2 separate regions of the Homo sapiens genome follow, and region 2 is linked to region 1. The links are contacts of gene promoters, found by promoter capture Hi-C in human tissues and cell types (Jung and others, 2019). All regions are on one chromosome and are shown on one strand. The core of a region is centred on a gene start or on the middle of the fragment in contact, and the rest is flanking DNA. Distances in the headings are between cores, read along the strand shown.

Evidence for each region. Contacts are between HindIII fragments. The study calls those that stand out against the background at their distance.
Region 2: a fragment that was not itself captured here is called in contact with the fragment with the promoter of CETN1 in region 1 in 1 of the 25 tissues and cell types used here (lymphoblastoid cells).

What each region holds. Positions count from the first base shown.
Region 1 is chr18:575,369-582,328 of GRCh38, reverse strand. CETN1 (centrin 1) reads right to left here and starts at 1,949. Exons shown (of 1, transcript NM_004066.3): 1 at 215-1,949. The coding sequence starts at 1,920. The coding sequence ends at 1,402. The HindIII fragment of the contact is 12,122 bases long and covers 1-4,573 here.
Region 2 is chr18:95,753-102,479 of GRCh38, reverse strand. No RefSeq gene overlaps it. Among named protein-coding and RNA genes, the nearest start is that of MIR8078, 13 kb to the left of the region's middle. The HindIII fragment of the contact is 6,681 bases long and covers 837-6,727 here.

The sequences.
Region 1 (6,960 bases), core at 700-3,199:
AATGAGAATTAAGCCCAGGGTAGTTTGTTCCCCTGATTAGATCCACACCCTCTGAAGGGTAAAATTGCTGGCAAAGCAAGTGAAATGTTCCCAGAATTTGAGCATTTATCTTAATGGGGCTTTGTATGAGGATTTAATTTAGGTTTAGTTGTGACCAAAATATCCTGCCTCTTTGTTTTGTTGCCTGTTATTAAAACATTAGTCAAAGCCTCCATCTCAGCAGATCTATTTGTTATTTTCCCACAATTACATTTTTAAAATTTTCTTTAACTTCAGATTTGTAGCTATGCAAAATGATGATATCTTACTCCAAAGCAAAAAATAATTTATAACAGAAAACAAGCAGTATTAACACATAAACAAGCCACAGTGGAGCAGTTTACTGGGATTTGTAAAATAGAGCACTACTGAAATGCCAGACACTCTGACATCAACTATATGTCAGAGGGGCTAAAAGTCAAGTACCAAGAACCAAGATGTTCTAAGGATTAGCAGGGAGAGTGTCTCATAATCAAGCAGTAATAAGATGACTAAGGTTATAATAGTCCAATAACTAAGATATTTGTTGCTATTTCCAAGGACTATAAGTAGCTTAAAATGTTATATTAAGGTATTTGTTATAATTTCCTAAACTAAGATCCTACATTTGTAAATATTTACTCAAAATCGTTTGTTAGCGTAACCTCTTAAGCAAATTATACTTTGCTTGGGCCAGTATTAGATTTTATTTTTATTCTGTAGCCCAGGTATACATACTAGCCCTAGATAAACCCATGGTGGACAATTTACACATGAACGAAGAATCATTTGCAGGTATAAAGCCAGTGAATAGTCAAAATTGCACAACGTACTACCACCCAAGCAAGTCTATTCTTTATAAGATTATCTGTCCTGAGCTCCGTAAGTTTGTAAGTGGCCACCCTGTTTTCCTTCAAACTGGTATTCAGCTAAGTGGACAGGCTAGGCAAATCTACTGGCAGATTCCATCTCATTATGCTGGAACAATGACTGGAATTTAAGGAATGATATATGAAGCAAGATAATTTAAGACCACCAAAGAAGTGACAAAGGGAACCACATTTTTGTGTGTCCCAGAAGCTGTCCTGCCTCCAGATCAACAGATGAACAGCAAGTTCAGCACAGGGCAAATGGAGGGCGCACTCAAACTTCAGGGCCCTTTGTTTAACCTCATGTGCTCCAGGTTGACTCTTGAGAATTAAAACCCAAAACTCACATTACAAGCATCTTTCAAATTCTATTATTGAACTAGAGATATGGAAATAGATCTAGACAAATTATGGGGGTGAGGGGGTGAAGAAGGGACAGGCAGCCGCTGTCCTCTAAGGTTTCACAAAATGGAAGCAGGCAACCCAGAGAGTCACTTTAGCTTCTGAACCGACTTCAGTAAAGGCTGGTCTTCTTCATGATCCGAAGGAACTCCTCCTCGTTCACTTCGCCGTCCCCATCCCGATCAGCTTCGTCGATCATCTCCTGCAGCTCCTCATCCGTGAGGTTCTCCCCCAGCTCGTTGGCCACACGCTTCAGGTTTTTGAACGAGATCTTCCCGGTCTCATCGTCATCAAAGAGCCTGAAGGCCTTCAGGATTTCTTCTTTGGTGTCCTTCTCGGACATCTTCTGCGTCATCACGGCCAGGAAGTCATTGAAGCTGATCTTCCCCGTGCCTTCCCTGTCCACCTCGGAGATCATTTTCTTCATCTCTTCCTTCCTGGGTTCGAAGCCCAGCGCTCTCATGGCCACCTTCAGCTCCTTCGCGTCGATGGTCCCACTTCCGTCCACGTCGAAGAGGTCAAATGCTTCCCGAACTTCTTGCTTCTGATCCTCAGTGAGCTCGGGCTTAGGTGCCACCTTTCTCTTTTGGCCGGTGGAGGCAGCGCTGGGCTTCTTGAAGCCGGAAGCCATCCTGCCGCTCTGGCCGCCGTGGTCCCAACGGCACCGCCCCGCGCTCTCATTCGGGCGCCCCCCGCCGGCGCGGCGCGGGACCACCCCTCGCTCACTGCCAACGCCCACGCCCGCTGGGGCCTGGAGCCGGCCCGGGGAACCTCTTCCTACGCCCTCCCATCTGCGGGATCTTGCTTAGGCGAGAATCCGCTGTCCCCTCGGGTCATTAACCGGTTTCCACGAGTTGACGCCTGAGCTGGCAAGAACAGCCTGTAGCCACAGTTGTCTTCTGTAATCCACTGGCGCTGGCAGTTCTTTCCAAGATATGTGCTAGCATCCATAAGACCCCAGTTTTATAGGTTTCTTTAGGGACTCTTCCTCTCTCTCTCTCTCTCTCTCCTCTCTCTCTTTTGACAGGAGTGCACTGGTGCCACTCAGCTTACTGCAGCCTCCACCTTCCAGGATCAAGTGATCCTCCCACCTCAGCCTCCATAGTAGCTGAGACTACAGGGCATGCCACCACACCCAGCTAAATTAAAAAAAAAAATTTTTTTTTTTATAGAGACAGAGTCTCACCATGTTGCCCAGGCTGGTCTGAAACTCCTGGGATCAAGGGATTTCCCGCCCCAGCCTCCCAAAGTGCTAGAATTACAGGCATGAGCTACCAAGCCGGGCCTCTCCTTTTTATACCATTTAAAAAACCCTCTTGTTCTAGCGGCAACACCCAATGAGGTGACAGGTCCTAAGGGTAAATTTAGGATAATCAAGATTGAGTGTGATCACTTGACATTCAATGTGGGGAAGGAGAAGGAAGAGAGAATATTAAAAGTCATACCATGTGTTCAACTTGACATAAATGGGAAACAGAGAAAATGGAAAAATTTATGTATAAAATGCGTAGAAGTTTGTCTCCTGACATTACACTCAACAATAATACAATGTTTCTGGCATGTTCTCAAATATGAAATGTAATATCCAAATGTATGATTTACTTTCAGTGTTTCCATTTTACATACTCAGTATAATTGCACTTGAATAATGGTCATAATTTCATTCATGAGGCTTTTGATTTGGAGGGAGGGAAGTGGAAATACTACATTCTGGTATATTCTAGTATTTTCTTTTCTCTAACCTCCTAGCAGCACATTACTCTCCTTGCTTATCATCCAATCAGAGCTGTGCTGAAACCCACGCTCTGGTCGCCTTCCTTTGGCAATGGGCACAGGAGATGATGCAGGACATGTTGGGACTCAAAATTGCCTCCTGGGAATAAAGCGGTTCTCCTACAAACCAAAGAGCAAGAGGAAAATGGAAAAGAAAAAAAAAATTACCAAATAAGCCCACCAAGGAATTGCCTGTAGAATTACTTTGCATTCTTTTAAATAGTTACAGAAAAGAAAGCTGACTTATTTTTTTAGCATTCTCCCCCTGCCCCGCCCCCCCGCAATCAAATCTCAATCTATTAATATATCAATACCTTTTGTAACCTATGAAGGTTACAAAAGATGTCACTTTGAAGAGTTTGTGTTAAAGAGTTTTATGGCTGGGTGCAGTGGGTCACACCTGTAATCCCAGTAATTTGGGAGGCCAAGGCGGGAGGATCACCTGAGGTCAGGAGTTCAAGACCAGCCTGGCCAACAAGGTGAAACCCTGTCTCTATGAAAAATACGAAAATTAGCTGAGAGTTGCTGCGCACAACTGTAATCCCAGCTACTTGGGAGTATGAGGCACGGGAATCGCTTGAACCCAGGAGGCGGAGGTTGCAGTGAGCAGATATTGTGCCCCTGCACTCCACCCTAGGCAACAGAGTGAGATTCTGTCCCCAAAAAAACAAACAACAACAAAACAAAACAGTGCTGGATACAACACAGTAGGTAGGTTAATAAATATTCGTTGAATGAATGCATGACAATTAAGGTTGGTCCTAAAATACCTTCTGAATACAACAAGTGAAAACCCCAAAAGATTAAATGATGCCAGGAATGTTTTACAAACTGTTTTTTAAAATTAGTGGTCAGATATTGTTTACATGGCACATTTAATTAGCCATATATCACTACCTGCCCCAGTTCGATATGTGACTTAGTTGACAGAGAGCCTGGACACAGGGTTTCTTCTAAAGGCCAAGGAAACTTACATAGGACCTCCCCTCTCCTGCCTTCCAGTACTTGTTGTGGACAGTGTCAACTCAAGGCACACTGGCAGGCAGACACTACAGCTGCTGTTCTTCTAACACCGCAAATCCTTGTGACCTGCTTTTTTCCATGTCAGAAGCCTGGGATCTTATCCCAAGTCTATGCCTTATTATCTCTGTGACTTTGGAAAGTCACTTAAACCACCCAGAGTCATCGAAACACCTGCAAAGTAGGCATCATCATAAAGCTTCCCACTGCATTTTCAGTGGGAGAATGTACACAAAAGCTCCAGGAACAGTGCCCTAGTGGGGCCATACAGATCTGGGTAATTGTTAGTTGAATAAGAATTTTTCTCAGACATTGTACATTTCCTTTGGCACCCACCCTTCTGCCCAAATTCAAGCCAAGCTATGATGTGTTGGGAAAAACTGAAGTATGGAAGCTGCCTTATATAGAGCTACATTTGGGCCAAGCTGAACTAAAAGCAAAACGGTTGTCATGGTTTCCAGATGTGTGCAATCAACAGTTACAACAAAGGGCCACCAAGAGCTCCCTTCATAGAAACAGTGCCCATAGTCACAGTCAGCTCTTGGTGGGGAGTTACATTATGTTCAGAGTCCAAACTCTGACTTAAGAAGGGAAGGGAAACACATTTAATGTGTGCCTAGCTTTGGGCGTGCTTCTCATAGTTGTCATCTTATTTGATCCTTGCCATCATTTCCTATTTTGCAGATGAAAAAAATGAGGCCCAGGAGAGGCCTGTAACACATATTTAATGGTACATGGCCAATAAATGGTGGCTCTGGGATTTAAATCCTGGCCTGCTGAAGCTTTGTTCACTACATCATGCTGCCTTCTCCACAAGTTGATTCTATATTACCAAAATATAGAATCACTGGGAAGACATGATACAGATTTTGTTACAGTAGGTAGCTAGTCAGGCATGAGCGGGGCAGAGAAGGGCTCCCCTCCCAACCCGCCAGGAATGTCAGGTGATGATCAGGGGATGGTTTGGCAGTTGTCACACTGCCTCTCTAAAATGATCATTGATCATGGCCACAACAGGGAGAGGCAGTTTCCCAACAGATGAATACACTTGAAATTGGTAGTCGGCAGCTTCCAATAAGATCTCAGGAATTGGGCCAGTGGGCTTGAGCATGCGCATTAAGAGACAAAATGGCAGCGTATGACCTTCTAGGGGCGTTCCACTGGAAAAGGGGAAGAAAGCCTCAGGTGATCACGCATACAACTTCTTAAACACACTGCCCATGCTCACCTCCCAATCCCAAGCAGGGCACTATGCATGTGGGCGGTTCACCTTAAGAGAAGAATAAGGGAAAGGGGCACAAGATGCGGGAAGTAGGCCAGCGTATAAAATCCTAGGTTCAAGATCAAACGGGGCACTTGACCTCCAGGGCGTCCATTGGCTCTCTTCCAGGTGTACTTGTGAAGTGGCCTTGTTGCCTGGGGTGACACCCAAGGTTCTCGGTCTCACGGCCACGGAGGTAAAGGATGTGGAAACACACAAAGGGTGAGGTTTCGAGCAGAATTTTAATAGGTGAAAGAAGGAGAATAGCTCTCTGCCCCAGAGAAGGGTCCCGAGAAAAGGAGTTGCCGATCCGTGGTTAAATGCAGGGGGTTTTATAGATGAGCTAGTGGGGAGGCGGTGTCTGACCTACAAAGGGCATGAAAAACTGGTTAGGACCGGGTGTGCCATCTGCATAGGGCACGAATCTCTGGCAGCCCCCACCCCAGTCTTTTATTATGCCCGTGGCTAGATACTCCATGTTACTTCTTCCTTCCTTCCTTCCTTCCTTCCTTCCTTCCTTCCTTCCTTCCTTCCTTCCTCTCTCTCTCTCTCTTTCTTTCTTTTTTTGAGTAGGAGTCTCACTCTGTCACCCAGGCTGGAGTGCAGTGGTGAGATCTGGGCTCACTGCAACCTCCGCCTCCCAGGTTCAAGCGATTCTCCTGCTTCAGCCTCCTAAGTAGCTGGGATTACAGGTGTGCGTCACCACGCCCGGCTAATTTTTGTATTTTTAGTGGAGACGGGGTTTCACCATGTTGGTCAGGCTGGTCTCAAACTCCTGACCTTGTGATCCGCCTGCCTCGGCCTCCCAGAGTGCTGGGATTACAGGCGTGAGCCACCGGGCCCGGCCGCTTATTTCCTTCTTACTGTGCATGTGCTAAAAATAGAGGGGAGGTGGAGCCCCCAGGGTGGACATTCCTGGCCCCAGGTACCTCTTTCTAACTGTGCAGCTTCTGGCATCCCCTCGTGCAAGTTTCCAGCTTCCTTATCTATGTTTGCAGCCCGATCTCCCAGGCTGCTCTTTGTTAGAAAAGAAGGGATTTCTTGGGCTGTTCTTTGTTAGCAGGGAAGTTCTGCCGAGGACTCTTTTGCCCTCATTATCTGCTTAAAATAATTTCTGTCTCCAGTATCACTTGCCTTATGTTCCTGCTCTAAAGCGTTTTAATAAACGCTCTGAAACTTGCCTCAGTCTCTTTTTCTGCCGTATGACCCTGAGTTGAATTCTTTCTTCTGAGGATGTAGGAATTGAGGTTGCTGCAGACCCATACGGATTCTATTAAGGTAACTTGGATATTCGCTACTAGTGATACATTTTGGTGCCACGTGACTCGGATACCTTCTGCTGCTAACAATTTTCTTCCCTACACATAACAATAATTAAGCATCTTGCCTAGAAGGATTGAACAGGAATTTGTAGGATCTAAGACAGGGTCCCATTCTGGGGCGAGTCACTGAACCTGCAATATGCTTAGTATTTACATCTGTTCTTCCTCCATTCCACTTCACCCCATTCCCTGCTTTCAACTCTGTATATGAGCTGGGGAAAGCAATCTGGGCAAAATGCCTTTGCTTGGCATTAGTGAAAGTCTATACAAGGCATGTGAAAATCAGCTTTATTAC
Region 2 (6,727 bases), core at 2,928-5,427, 480 kb after region 1:
TGAGTGAATAATTTGTTTCCACATTACAGAGTGGGTAATAAGCAGATTAGTAAAAACAATTCTGCTTCACTTCAATAACAGCCTCCTCCAACTCATTTTTTCTCAACAAACTTATTTTTCCAGCAGAAGAATCCCAGACTTCTTAGAGAACCCAGTGACTTTTTGCACCTTAAATCTGTGAAATCCTCACGTTTTCTTCTGCTGTATCTATAGTTCAAACAAAGATGAGGCAAAACTAGACGCATTCCTGAAGGAACCCAAGAAATTCCTCTCTTTCTGTCTCGGAATGAAATGAATTCTCCAGACCACTAGTTCTAACCTTCAAAAACCAAACCTGTTTGTGAGATCTCCTTCAAATACTACTGTAGACCCCAGTATTTATTCATTAAATTTTTTAAATATTTGTTTTATTTGGAATCAAAGTATTTGTAATTTTAGTATTTGTATTAATATAAGGGAGAAATGTTTAAATCTGTCTATGCCATATGTGCCTCTGGCTTATTGCCCAATTAATTGTAGTCTCAGGCTAAACTTTCGTTTCTGTCTTCAATTTTTGTCAGAAGAAATATAACTGATCTCAAAACATCTGCTTTTATGTAGGGACTCGTGCTGCCATCTCCATTCCTCTCTCTTTTTTTGCAATCTGGGTGGAAGTTCTTTAATATGAACATTTCAACCACCTTCATTCTACCATATCCACTATGAGCACATTCAAACGTATCCAGCCAAGGCTGTCATCTTAGGCCAGGGATTTTTTAGGAATCTATTTTGCTGTGATGCGGCTGGCACCCCTTTGATTCACTGTATCACCCCAGGGTTCTTTTCATTTTATAAGCCCAAGAGGGCAGAAAATGAAGTAGATGAGCAATTAAACACTGTGAGTCAGGAGCGTCTCCCCTTGTGTTAGGCAATGTTGTAGAACATCGTATTTAGCAAGCTCCTAGCAGATGAGCCATGTGGCTTCTGAGCACACGTGCCTGCTTGCTGCTGTGAGCTCAGACACCATCATCATGTCTTTTCCATCTCTGGAGGGAATTGTAAGGGCCACTTAATAGCCTGTAAATCAGAGAGATAAAGGTGCTTCCCCAAAACACTGATGACAGAATGAAAGGTGAGGAGTGTTAGCCACAGGTCAAAAGTACAGGAAAGTCTCTCAGTGTGGGTTGCTGAAGAAATGCAGGTCTTTTTTCTTTTGGACGTCTCCCTAGAATGGGGTCAAGGACTCTGCCCATTCTAGGATGAAAAATTGGGATATTAGACACACTCAGATATTTATCCCAAACTTTCAATTTGGGCTCTTAATTAGTTTGTTCATCCATCACAATCTCAAATGCTAAGCAGGACATTTGAATCTCTCCACAGTCCAAATCAGCACCGTCTTTTAAAGTTGAGTTTCTTATTATTCTCACCTGATATACCTTATTTATCCCACACACACCCCAATAACATATTGTGCTCACTGTTATCTTTGAGACAACACTTGAATTTTACTCAGCCTGGCGTGCTCTTCACATATCTTGTCCAGATCCAGTTGAGACTCATTCTTCAGCCATGCATCAGTCAATGGGGGCTAGGTTAAACTGTGGTGACAAACAACCTCCAAATTTCAGTGGCTCAAAAATCTTCTTCCTCATTTATTTACATCTCATCACGGGTCAGGTGAGAGATATCTCTGTGCTGTGTCATCCTAACACAGGAATCCAGATGGAAGGAGGGATCATCAATAAGATCCCCATTGCTATAGAAAAGAGAAAAAAGCATGCAGAGTAGAACTCTGTTTCTTGGAGATTTCTCCTGAAAAAGTCACATGTTATTTCTTCTCACCTCCATTAGCAAAAAATAAAATAAAAATAAAAATAGAAAAGTCATGTGGCCATGGAAAAATTTAAGTAGGTGGGATGGAACAGTCAGAATGCATTCATAAAAAAATGGACTGAAAATATTTGGAGAACAGCACCAATGACTATCATGAATGCCAACATACATCCCTAACAACCCAGTGCTGTTACCCTCCAAACATTTTATGTCTTGCAAAGTATTAGAACTTCATATGTGAAGCCATACCACTCAGAGGGAATGCAAAATACATAATGACATCTCCTTTAAGATGTCCTTAGAGAATTCAAGGAAAAGAAGTTAAAGGATTTAAAAGTGCTTTTGGGTACAGCTATTTAGCACTAGACAGTAAGATTAGACATAGATTGTAAAGATAATAATAGGGTTAGGGATAGGATTAGGATCTGGGTCAGAGTCAGGGCCAGAAGTATGGTTAGAGGTGGGGTCATGGTCAGGGTCGAGATCAAAGTCAGGGTCAAAGTAAGGGTCAGAATTAGGGACCAGGGTAGGGATCAGGGTTTAGGTTCAGGGTCAAAGTCTTGGGACAGGGTTAGGGTTAGAATTAGAACCAGAGCTTTGTTCTCGTCAGGACCCACCCGAGGATGGGTCACCATGGCTTTGGAGCACCTGGTAGTGTGGCGTGTCCACAGTGAAGACCAGAGTTTCGTTGTCCTTAAGACTGACCTGGGAGACGTGGCTGCAGGCCATTGAGGAAGGTGAGGCAAAAGCTTCCTGTCTGCTCCCCGTGTGCTGAGGAGGGAACTCTGCCATGGGCTTTACTTTCACACGTTTTATTCTACAAGTCTTGTTTTACAAAAGCATCCCTTCCTTGAGGCTTCGGCTGCTCATCGCAGCTCATCACCATAGCGTGCCATAACATATGGTAAGATTTGGGCTTGTTTCTGGGAAGAGATCTTGGTATAGAGACAGGGGAAATGCTTAGAGCCACCATCAGGACAGTTGGGATGAAAGCTGGGGATGGGCAGAGGCTGGAGGAAACACGTGCACCCCCTGTAAACACTTTTATTCATGTTTTAATTGCTCATTTTTCTTACAGTGTTAAAGTAGTAAAAATAGTATTGAAAAATTGAAAAGTAGGCATATTAAAACTTGCACCATTATTTAAGTTTAAATATATTGTTTGTACCTCATCATTTTTTATTTTGTTGGGAAAGTCTAAGGTTAATTGCAGCATAGTTGTAATAGTAGACAGAATAATGTCTGTTTTATAAACATTGACATACTACATTACATGTATGAGCCCTGAAAATCTGAGACAGCTCTCAGATTTTTTAGAAAGTTTATTTTGCCAAGTTTGCAGTGGAGCCCCCGTGATGCCTCCTCAGGAGGTCCTGACAACATGGGCCCAAGGTGGTCGAGGCACAGCTTGGTTTTATACACTTTATACACTTTAGGGAGACATGAGACATCAATCAATATATGTAAGGTGTACATTAGTTCAGTCCAGAAAGGTGAGAAGGCCAGATAGGGGGCTTCCAGATCATAGGTAGGTAAGAGACAAATGGTTTCATTCTTTTGCTTTGCTGATTACCCTCTCCAAATGAGGCAATCAGCTATGCATTTATCTCCGTGAGCAGATGTGTGACTTTGGATAGAATGGGAGGCAGATTTGCCCTAAGCAGTTCCCAGCTTGACTTTTCCCTTTAGCTTAGCGATTTTGGGTCCCCAAGATTTATTTTCCCTTCACAAGGTCTAACATGTTTTCCTATGAGCATTAATTATTTATTGTGTATTTTATTACACAAATAAGGCATAGATTTTTTAAAAATCATCAACTTCATGCCTAGCTACATAGACATAATTCCATAGAAGCTCAACTAAATTTGAGCTTAGGGTTAGGGTTCGGGTTAGGGTTCGGGTTAGGGTTAGGGATCAGGTTTTGAGAGTGTGGTGAGGATCAAGGGAGGCACTTGGCAGGAGGAGGCAGATTCAACTTCCCTGGGGATCAGGGTTAGGATTGGTTAAGATTACAGTGGTGGGTTAGGGTTGGGGTTGGGTAGAGGAGGTTCTGGGAGGCTGTGTGAGTTTGGGGCACAGAGCTCCTCTTAAGATGCCCCAATAATCATTCACTCTGCTGTTAAAATGTTAGGATATTGCTAGCTACATGCTGATAAGGACAAAGGGGACATTCTTAAGAGAAACCTGGCACCATAAGTACAGATTAGGGCAGAGAAGGACATTCGAAAGAGATAGGCAGGCACAGTAGGTACAGACATGACCACTGTAGGACCTTCCTGGAGTGGCAGGAAGGAGCCCAGCCCCAGCAGTGGAATCACACTGATCACTGCACATATGTGTCAGCCAACAGTGAGGGGGTCCCACAAGCCTAGGCGGGGCAAGTCAGGGATCTAAGGAAGGAGCAGGAAAACCAGACAAAGAAAAGAGGTGGAGACTTGAGGAATGTGAAGAAGTCCAACATAAAACTCCCTGCTCAGGACCCTGGGGCTGTGTTCCTGCAGATCAGCCCCACTTCTCCCTTGAGGCATACTTATTTTTTCTACAATAAGCTCTTTACACTATATTTCTTTTCAATGAAGTTATCTGCCATCTTTGTACTGCCTCTTGGTGAGAATCTTTCTTTCAAGTTAGACAAGAACTGGGACATCAGGTCTCCCCAGTATTAGCTCCATTTCAGTTTGAATTTGCAGAATTGATAGTGCTGAACAACCTGCACTCCAACTTTAAGTGGTGTAGGAAGAGGCCAGCAGGGTCAGACCCTGAAAACAGACCAGCCACGTCTCCCAGGTGGACGCAGCGGGTTCTCCACGAACGTGACTTGGGGATTTAGGGCACTGAGACCGTGCTACCCACCCCCCTTAAAAATCCCTCGTGGCTCCCAGTTGCCCTGAAGGGGAATCCCAAACTCTTCAGAGGCAGCACATGCTGGTGGGTGAGACTTGGGAGCCTGAGTCCAAGTTCCAGCCTGGCCGCTATCGGCTGTGTGACCACTGGCAACTCGCCTAACCTCTCTGGGCCTCACGGGCTCGTTGGAGGATGTGGTGAGAGAATGACCGAGATGAGCTTAGCACAGTGCTGGCCACACTGTCGCTGTTCAATGCCAGGTGGCTGTGGCAGCAAGAGGGCCCTGCAGTGTCTCCAGCCGCCAGCAGGGTGCGTGCCGCCACTACACTGGGAGCAAGAGGGCCCTGCAGTGCCCTGGCCGCCAGCAGGGGGCGCAAGGCCATGACACCGTGAGCAAGAGGGCCCTGCAGTGCCCCCGGCCGCCAGCAGGGGGCGCAAGGCCATGACACCGTGAACAAGAGGGCCCTGAAGTGCCCCCGGCCGCCAGCAGGGGGCGCAAGGCCATGACACCGTGAGCAAGAGGGCCCTGCAGTGCCCCCGGCCGCCAGCAGGGGGCGCAAGGCCATGACACCGTGAGCAAGAGGGCCCTGCAGTGCCCCCGGCCGCCAGCAGGGGGCGCAAGGCCATGACACCGTGAGCAAGAGGGCCCTGCAGTGCCCTGGCCGCCAGCAGGGGGCGCAAGGCCATGACACCGTGAGCAAGAGGGCCCTGCAGTGCCCCCGGCCGCCAGCAGGGGGCGCAAGGCCATGACACCGTGAGCAAGAGGGCCCTGCAGTGCCCTGGCCGCCAGCAGGGGGCGCAAGGCCATGACACCGTGAGCAAGAGGGCCCTGCAGTGCCCAGGCCGCCAGCAGGGGGCGCAAGGCCATGACACCGTGAGCAAGAGGGCCCTGCAGTGCCCCCGGCCGCCAGCAGGGGGCGCAAGGCCATGACACCGTGAGCAAGAGGGCCCTGCAGTGCCCAGGCCGCCAGCAGGGGGCGCAAGGCCATGACACCGTGAGCAAGAGGGCCCTGCAGTGCCCAGGCCGCCAGCAGGGGGCGCAAGGCCATGACACCGTGAGCAAGAGGGCCCTGCAGTGCCCCCGGCCGCCAGCAGGGCGTCCACACCGGGCCGAAGCGAGGGTGAAGCCCGCGTCCTCCTCGGCACAGACCCGGGGGGCACCGCCTCGCTTTGGGACAACTCGAGGCCATGGTGAGTAAAATCCTTCCTGTTTGCAGCCCTGACTACTGAGGGTTAGAGACCAGTAAGCGGGGTCGGTGTGGGAAACTGGAAACCAAAAGCCCCTCCGAATCCTGAGCACTGAGGTTCTCCCCACCCAAGGCGAGGCGGGCGCAGTGCGAGGTCTACACCGCGGCCTTGGAACACAAATGGAGCGTTCCTAATGCAGATATGCCTCCCGAAATACGAATGTGACACTCGCAGTGCTCAGGTAACAAACACCTGTAATGCTAATGCGCTGCCTCAATACAAAAATGTTAATATGAAACCCCGTGCTCCCCACACGGCCCCGCAGTCCCCGCTCACAATAATCAACACTGACATAATCAAAACTAACGTAGCCTCCAGCTGCTCACAGCTGCTGCTGAGCTGGAGCTGCCTCGGGCTTGGCCTCCACAGTGGAGCTTGTTGTCGTATCTGCTTCACGGGCGTGGAATTGACACAGTTGTTTTAAAAAGTAGCTTACTTCCCAATAATTCCATACTTTCAGGAAACTTGCAACGGTAGTGTGGAGTTTTCTTTCTCTTTTCTCTCAGATTCCTCAGCGGTTGTTGCTGAGCCAGATCTGCATCTCACAGAAAACACCCCAGTGTTTTTCACCCAAAACAGGGACCCCTCCCAGGTAAGCGCCAGGTGACCCCAGCGCAGGAGGCCACGTTTCTACCTGAGGGTCGTGTCCGCAGGCCCGTTTCACTTCGCAGCCACCCCGGCTGGGTGGAAAATGTCTCTTTCCATCTGGGTCCAGTTTTCCTTTTCTGGAGCCTTCGCAGAGTTGAAGAGCAGAGCTGCCCCCAGCCTGGGTCTGCACAGCGGTTCCCCCTGGGCAGATGCAGACGCCGCACTCCAGGTG